Regions from separate parts of the Homo sapiens genome. Here all the other regions are linked to region 3. Evidence: promoter capture Hi-C in human tissues and cell types (Jung and others, 2019). All regions are on one chromosome and are shown on one strand. Each heading gives the region's core, a stretch centred on a gene start or on the middle of the fragment in contact. The rest is flanking DNA. Distances are from core to core; before and after follow the strand shown.

Region 1 (2,700 bases), core at 201-2,700, 150 kb after region 3:
AATCCTTACAAGTGTAATGAGTGTGGCAAGACCTTCAGCCGGACGTCATCCCTTACATACCATCATAGACTTCATACTGGACAGAAACCTTACAAATGTGAAGATTGTGATGAAGCTTTCAGTTTCAAATCAAACCTTGAAAGACATAGGAGAATTTATACTGGAGAGAAACTACACGTGTAATGAGTGTGGTAAGACCTTCAATCAGGAGTTAACCCTTACATGCCATCGTAGGCTTCATAGTGGAGAGAAACCTTACAAATATGAAGAACTTGACAAAGCTTACAATTTCAAATCAAACCTTGAAATACATCAGAAAATTCGTACTGAAGAGAATCTTACAAGTGTAATGAGTGTGGCAAGACCTTGAGTCATACGTCATCTTTTGTGTACCATCATAAACTTCATAGTGGAGAGACCTTACAAATGTGAAGAATGTGAAGAAGCTTTCTGTTTCAAATCCAACCTTGAAAGACATAGGAGAATTCACACTGGTGAGAAACCTTACAGGTGTAATGAGTGTGGCAAGACCTTCAGCCAGACCTCATCCCTTACATGCCATTGTAGACTTCGTACTGGAGAGAAACCTTACAAATGTGAAGAATTTGAGTTTTCCATTTCAAATCAAACCTTGAAAGACAAAGGAGAATTCATACTGGAGAGAAACCATACAAGTGTAATGAGTGTGGCAAGACCTTTAGTCAGAACTCATACCTTACACGCCATCGTAGACTTCATACTGGAGGATACCTTACAAATGTAATGAGTGTGGCAAGACCTTTAGTCAGAACTCATACCTTACATGCCATCATAGACTTCATACTGGAGAGATACCTTAAAAGTGTAGTGAGTGTGGCAAGACCTTTAGTCTGAAGTCATACCTTACGCACCATCGTAGACTTCATACTGGAGAGGTACCTTACAAGGATAATGAGTGTAGAAAAACCTTTCATGGGCAGTCAGCATTTTACAAATGTAATGATTGTCACCAAGTCTTGAGTAATGCTACAACTATTGCAAATCATTGGAGAATCCATAATGAAGAGAGATCCTACAAGTGTGATAAATGCAGAATAAATGCAGAAAATTTTTCAGACATCCTTCATACCTTTGCAGTTCATGGGTGAAGTCGTATTAGAAACCTTACAAATGTGAAGAATGTGATGAAGCTTTCAGATTCAAATCAAACCTTGATAGTCATAGAATTCATACTAGAGAGAAACCTTAGCAGTGTAATGAACGTGGCAAGGTTTTAAATCAAAAAGCAAAGCTTGCACATCATCATAGAATTCATACTGGAGATAAACGTTACAAATGTGAAGCATGTGACAAAGTTTACAGTCGCAAATCAAGCCTCCAAAGACAGGAGAATTCATACTGGAGAGAAAGCTTACATATGTGAAGAATGTCACCAAGTTTTCAGTCACACTCAAACCTTGAAAGACACAGGAGAATTCCTACTGGAGAGATAGCATAAAAATGTAAGAGTTTGTGACAAGGCTTTCAGGCATAATTCGCACCTGGCACAACATCCTAGAATTCACATTGGAGAGAAAGCTTACAAGTATAATGAATGTGACAGGTCTTTAGTGGGCAGTCAACACTTGTTTACCATCAGGCAATCCATGGTGTAGGGAAACTTTACTTATGTAATGATTGTCACAAAGTCTTCAGTTACACTACAACCATTGCGAATCATTGGAGAATCCATAATGAAGAGAGATCATACTAGTTTAATAAATTTGGCAAATTTTTCAGACATTGTTCATAACTTGCAGTTCATCGGCGAACTCGTACTGGAGAGAAACCTTACAAATGTCATGATTGTGACAAGGTCTCAGTCAAGCTTCATTCTATGCAAAACATAGGAGAATTCATACAGGAGAGAAACCTCACAAGTGTGATGATTGCGGCAAAGCCTTTAATTCACATTCACACCTCACTAGACATCAGAGAATGCATACTGGACAGAAATCTTATAAATGTCATCAGTGTGCCAAAGTCTTCAGTCTGAGCTCACTCCTTGCAGGATATCAGAAAATTCATTTTGGAGATAGTTGTTCCAAATACAATGTGTATAGCAAACCATCAAGCATTAATTGACACTAGAGTCAGTTCAGCATTGACTTGAGTTTGACTTAACATTGAGTTGAAGCCTTAATTGACATTAAAGTGTTTATGTTAAGAGGACTGGGCCAGGCACAGTGGCTCACACCTGTAATCTGAGCGCTTTGGGAGGCCAGCACCGGTAGATCACTTGAGTTCAGGAGTTTGAGGTCAGCCTGGCCAACAGACGTGAGCCATTTTCCCAGCCTGTTTTTTGTTTCTTTAACAAAAACTGATAGGGATTTTTTTTTTTTTTTTTGAGATGGAGTTTCACTCTTGTTGCCCAGGCTGGACTGCAATGGAGCGATCCCAGCTCACTACAACCTCCGCCTCCCAGGTTCAAGCAATTCTCCTGCCTCAGCCTCCAGAGTAGCTAGGATTACAGGCATGAGCCACCACGCCCAGCTAATTTTGTATTTTTAGTAGAGATGGGGTTTCTCCATGTTGGTTAGGCTGGTCTTGAACTCCCAGCCTCAGATGATCCACCCACCTCGGCCTCCCAAAGTGCTGGGATTACAGGCGTGAGCCACTGCGCCCAGCCCCAGTGATAAGGATTTTTATGGGTACCGTGTTGAATCTAAATCACATTGGGTT
Region 2 (2,718 bases), core at 219-2,718, 180 kb before region 3:
CTAATGTTTTCACCCAGTGACCAACATCTCCCTATTCCCTCCAGTCCCCAACCTGTGGTAACCCACATTCTACTCTTTGCTGCTATTAGTTTTATTGGTTTAGATTCCAAATGTAAGTGACAACATGCAGTACTTGTATTTCTGTGCTGAAGCCTGGAAAAACAGAATACGCACCCCATGTAAGACTGAGGATCAATGACAGAAGGATTTTGTTAGGTGTCTTTACGGTTATGCTGAGAACAATCTTAGAAGATAGAACCCACTCGCTTATCACACACCCCCATGAAAGTGGCAAAAGCAGAATGGAAGAAATGGCCGAGGGACCTCGACAGGCGGAGACGGCTGGAGACTCTTCCATGAGGTTTGGGGCAGCAGATGCCAAGGAGCAGCAGCCAATGTTTCCATCTCCTGAGCAGGTCTTCCACGCACAGGAAATGGGGTGGAACATAAACAGGTCTAGACGTCAGGACTAAGGACTATGGAGGCTTCCCCTCTGACCCATATGGACTAAGAACTGAGCACCATATGGAATTAAATACAGAGGGAGAGACCAAGAAAGAAAGCAGTTTCTTCAGAAGGAACCATAGAGTTCAAATGACAGGGTGTTGTCCATCATGATAAAGACTTTGCCTCTATCTCTAAGGCAACTTATTTTCCCAAAGAACTCTCTCATCTGCAGAGAGTTTCCCACTTTATTTATTTATTTATTTTGAGACGGAGTTTTGTTCTGTCCACCCAGGCTGGAGTGCAGTGGCATGATCTTGGCTCACTGCAACCTCCACCTCCCGGGTTCAAGCAATTCTCTTGCCTCAGCCTCCTGAGTAGCTGGGACTACAGGCACACGCCACCATGCCCGGCTAATTTTTTTTTGTATTTTTAGTAGAGATAGGGTTTCACAATGTTGGTCAGGCTGGTCTCGAACTCCTGACCTCAAGTGATCTGCCCACCTTGGCCTCCCTAAGTGTTGAGATTACAGGCGTGAGCTACTGTGCCCCCTCCCACACTCTAGTTAATGAGTGGCCTTCTCTCTGCCCATCTGAGCTCTTACCTGTGACCACGCCTTTGACACATTCCGGCGTTCTTGGTTTTCTTGCTATTTTCACACAGCTCTTCACAGTCCAGGGCTCTTTCCCTTCCTCCAACATGGAGATAATATTCATATCAAAATGACACAGTCCTGTTTATAAAAAGAAAGGATCACAATGTGCCGGGGCTTTTCCAGAATCCCAGCCCTATGTTTACATGAGAGGACATTATATGTGGATCTAAGAAAACTTCAAAAATTCATCCACTGGGCCAGGCGCGGTGGCTCATGCCTGTAATCCCAGCATTTTGGGAAGCTGAGGTGGGTGGATCACAAGGTCAGGAGATGGAGATCATGATGGCTAACATGGTGAAACCCTGTCTCTACTAAAAACATAAAAAAAAATTATCCAGGTGTGGTGGCGGGCGCCTGTGGTCCCAGCTACTCGGGAGGCTAAGGCAGGAGAATGGCATGAACCTGGGAGGCAGAGCTTGCAGGGAGCCTAGATCACGCCACTGCACTCCAGCCCGGGCGACAGAGCGAGACTCCGCCTCAAAAAAAAAAAAAAAAAATCATCCACTGAATGCCTCCTTCTGAATACCCAGGAAACATGGTACATGCTGATAGAAGGCTCTATTCCACCAACAACTTAATCCAAAGCAGAGAGGTAGAAAACAGGAAATCTGACATTTCAAAAGTCTAACACAATGTATTATGCATACAAAAGCTCTGAAACCTCAAATGATGAAGTACAAAGGAGGCAGAACATCTGAGAAAGGGGAAGATTAAAGTCCAGGTTTCCCATGATTAAGCTTTCCATTTCAGAGTCAACAGGACTTCAATCTCAGTCAAGCAATGCAGGGGCTCTCCAGGGACTCGTAAGGGAAAATGCAACAATAGACAAGAACAGATCTTGACTTCTGGAAGAAAGTCATCCTCACCCAGAGAAACAAGGTTCCAGTAGTTCTCCAACATCACGTCCCTGTATAAGATCCTCTGAGCAGGGTCCAGGCATTTCCACTCCTCCTGAGAGAATTCTATGGCCACATCCCTAAATGTCAACCGTACCTAAAATGAAAAACACATTTCACCAAGTGGCTAAGGGGAGAGTTCAAAATTTCACATAAAAGGAGAAGAGGAGAAAAATGTGAGAATAGGTTAAATTGAAGTGGGTGAGCTGACAGATCCAGATTGTGACAATGTGACATACAGATTTGGTCTTCATCCCCCTCTCCTGACATAAGAGCTCACTTGAAATCAGTGGAGTGATAAGTATCTTTTTGTACATTAATGGGATAATTGGTGTCTGGAGCACCTAGGTAGCTTCAGGATGGAGGGCGGTCACCGGAACTAAGGCTCGGTGGGTGGTCACTGGAAAGGCTGAGGCTCGGTTAGACTAAGCCTCTGTCCTCTCGGGAGGACAGAGGGAATGAAAGTTCAGTTGATCACCAATGCCAATAATGGAAGCAAGGCCTCCATAATGGGGCCTCCATGAAAACTCAAAAAAGACAGAATACATGAGAGAATACATCCCAGCTCCTCACTCCTTTCCCATATCTCAACTAATAGATCACTTCCATCTAGATGTTCATCTGTGTGCTTTGTAGCATCTTCTATAATAAATGGGTAAATATAAGTGTTTCCCTGTGTTATGTGAGCCACTCAAGCAAACTAATCAATTTCAAGGAGGGGGT
Region 3 (2,700 bases), core at 102-2,601:
TAACTTATCAAGACCTATGAATATTCACTCATAAGTTATATTGATATGTAGAATAAATACTTTGACAAAAATAGGAAATTATCAAACCAAATTTATAAAGTGAACATGACAAATATTTATACATATGTAGGTGTGCGTGTATGTATGTGTGTGTGTATATGTATATATATGTGTGTATAGATATATAAAGGACACAACTAGGCAACTATTATAGCGTAGTAGTGAACACCAATGTTACTGCAACCAGGCTACTCACGTTCAAATCTTCACTCTTCTGGTATTTAAATGAGTCACCTAATCTCCTTGTGCTTAAACTCTTTTAGAGTTGGTGAAAGGAGAATAATATGAATTCCTACCTCATGGAGTTGTGAATATTAAATGTCAGAATAGGTACAGCATTTATAAAAGTCACTCATACATTGTAGGTGCTGTAAAAAGAAATACACGAAATGGGAAATTTGTTAACAATATATCTCTCTATATATTTCACTTTTAATATTCAGGGGGAAGAAATCGTCATAAGTGAAAGGTTATTTTCCATGAAAATGTGGCCCACAACTCGTGTTGCCATGCAGAACCTTCTGCTTACTCAATATTGAGTGCTGGAAAATGACAGAATGGCCTCTGTGGACCTGAAAATTGGAATGATCTTCCTATTTGTGGGCAGCAAGCCACCCAGCTGCCGAGGCAAGAGACCGAGGGCACGAGCTGTTCCAGCATAATAAAATATATAAAACAACAAGAGTTATATTAGATCTAGATCATAGACATGATTATATATGAATATCATTAATCATTAGTTGGTAGCAATTACTCTTATTCCAATATTATAATAATCCTCGCTCTATAATCATAACCTAGGAAAAGCCAGGCCATACAGAGATAGGAGCTGAGGAGACATAGTGAAAAGTGACCAGAAGACAAGAGCGCGAGCCTTCTGTTACGCCCAGACAGGGCCACCAGAGGGCTCCTTGGTCTAGGGGTAACGCCAGCGTGTGGGAAGACGCCCGTTGCCAAGTGGACCGTGGTCTAGCGGTAGCGTTAGTGTCAGGGAAAAACACCCGCTATTTAGCAGACCGGGAAAGGGAGTCTCCCTTTCCCTGGGGGAGTTTAGAGAAGACTCTACTCCTCCACCTCTTGTGGAGGGCCTGACTCAGTACCACCTGCAGTTATCCAGAGGCCTGTCTCCCTGTGATGCTGTGCTTCAGTGGTCACGCTCCTGGTCTGCCTTCATGTTCCATCTTGTACACCTGGCTCTGCCTTCTAGATAGCAGTAGTAAAATTAGTGAAAGTACTAAAAGTCTCTGATATGCAAAAATAATGGCATAAGCTGTCTCTCTCTCTCCCTCTCTCTCTCTCTGCCTTGGCTGCCAGGCAGGGAAGGGCCCCCTGTCCAGTGGACACGTGACCCACGTGACCTTACCTATCATTGGAGATGACTCACACTCTTTACCCTACCCCTTTTGCTTTGTATCCAATAAATATCAGCGCAGCCTGGCATTTGGGGCCACTACCAGTCTCCTGCTTTGTATCCAATAAATATCAGTGCAGCCTGGCATTCGGGGCCACTACCGGTCTCCGCGTCTTGGTGGTAGTGGTCCCCCAGACACAGCTGTCTTTTCTTTCATCTCTTTGTCTTGTGTCTTTATTTCTACACTCTCTTGTCTCTGCACACGGAGAGAAACCCACCAAACCTGTGGGGCTGGACCCTACACTATTCCAGGTAGTTGTTGGAATCCTGGGGAATTTTTCACTCTTATATTATTATATGTTCCTTTACTTTAGGGGATACAAGCCAAGATCCACAGATTTGATTCTCAGGCACCTGACTGTAGCTGACTCCTTGGTTATCCTATCTAAAAGAATCCCAGAGACCATGGCAACTTTTGGGTTGAAACATTTTGACAATTATTTTGGATGCAAATTTCTTTTGTATGCACACAGGGTAGGCAGGGGTGTGTCCATTGGAAGCACCTGCCTCTTGAGTGTCTTCCAGGTGATCACCATCAACCCTAGGAACTCCAGGTGGGCAGAGATGAAAGTAAAAGCCCCGACATACATTGGTCTCTCCAATATCCTGTGCTGGGCCTTCCACATGCTGGTAAATGCCATTTTTCCTATTTATACAACTGGCAAATGGAGCAACAACAACATCACAAAGAAAGGAGATTTGGGATATTGTTCTGCCCCACTTAGTGATGAAGTCACAAAGTCAGTATATGCAGCATTGACATCCTTCCATGATGTTTTGTGTCTGGGGCTCATGCTCTGGGCCAGCAGCTCCATCGTTTTGGTCTTGTACAGGCACAAACAGCAGGTACAACACATCTGTAGGAACAATCTCTACCCCAACTCTTCTCCTGGGAACAGAGCCATCCAAAGCATCCTTGCATTGGTGAGCACCTTTGCATTATGTTACGCCCTTTCCTTCATCACCTACGTTTATTTAGCTCTCTTCGATAATTCCAGTTGGTGGCTAGTGAACACTGCTGCACTAATCATTGCCTGTTTTCCAACTATTAGCCCTTTTGTTCTCATGTGCCGTGACCCCAGCAGATCCAGGCTCTGCAGTATCTGCTGCAGAAGAAATAGACGATTCTTTCATGATTTCAGGAAAATGTGAATTGGCTGTCTTGGTTTATGTTCGGCCACTGATGCACTCAGACCTCAAGGGATCTTAAGAATGATTATCAGCCAATT

The links. Contacts are between HindIII fragments. The study calls those that stand out against the background at their distance.
Region 1: a fragment that was not itself captured here is called in contact with the fragment with the promoter of VN1R2 in region 3 in 2 of the 25 tissues and cell types used here (mesenchymal stem cells and mesendoderm cells).
Region 2: a fragment that was not itself captured here is called in contact with the fragment with the promoter of VN1R2 in region 3 in 2 of the 25 tissues and cell types used here (hippocampus and lymphoblastoid cells).

Annotation. Positions count from the first base shown.
Region 1 is chr19:53,408,945-53,411,644 of GRCh38, forward strand. The region is part of intron 3 of ZNF765-ZNF761 (ZNF765-ZNF761 readthrough); the gene reads left to right. It overlaps ZNF765 (zinc finger protein 765), which reads left to right. Exons shown (of 4, transcript NM_001040185.3): 4 at 1-2,700. The coding sequence ends at 183. It also overlaps the pseudogene LOC124904793. Among named protein-coding and RNA genes, the nearest start is that of ZNF765-ZNF761, 15 kb to the left of the region's middle. The HindIII fragment of the contact is 3,821 bases long and covers 1-2,700 here.
Region 2 is chr19:53,073,092-53,075,809 of GRCh38, forward strand. It overlaps ZNF160 (zinc finger protein 160), which reads right to left. Exons shown (of 6, transcript NM_001322131.2): 4 at 1,966-2,092; 5 at 1,049-1,177. Among named protein-coding and RNA genes, the nearest start is that of ZNF160, 29 kb to the right of the region's middle. The HindIII fragment of the contact is 9,128 bases long and covers 1-2,718 here.
Region 3 is chr19:53,256,941-53,259,640 of GRCh38, forward strand. VN1R2 (vomeronasal 1 receptor 2) reads left to right here and starts at 1,352. Exons shown (of 1, transcript NM_173856.2): 1 at 1,352-2,662. The coding sequence starts at 1,436. The coding sequence ends at 2,623. The HindIII fragment of the contact is 12,643 bases long and covers 1-2,700 here.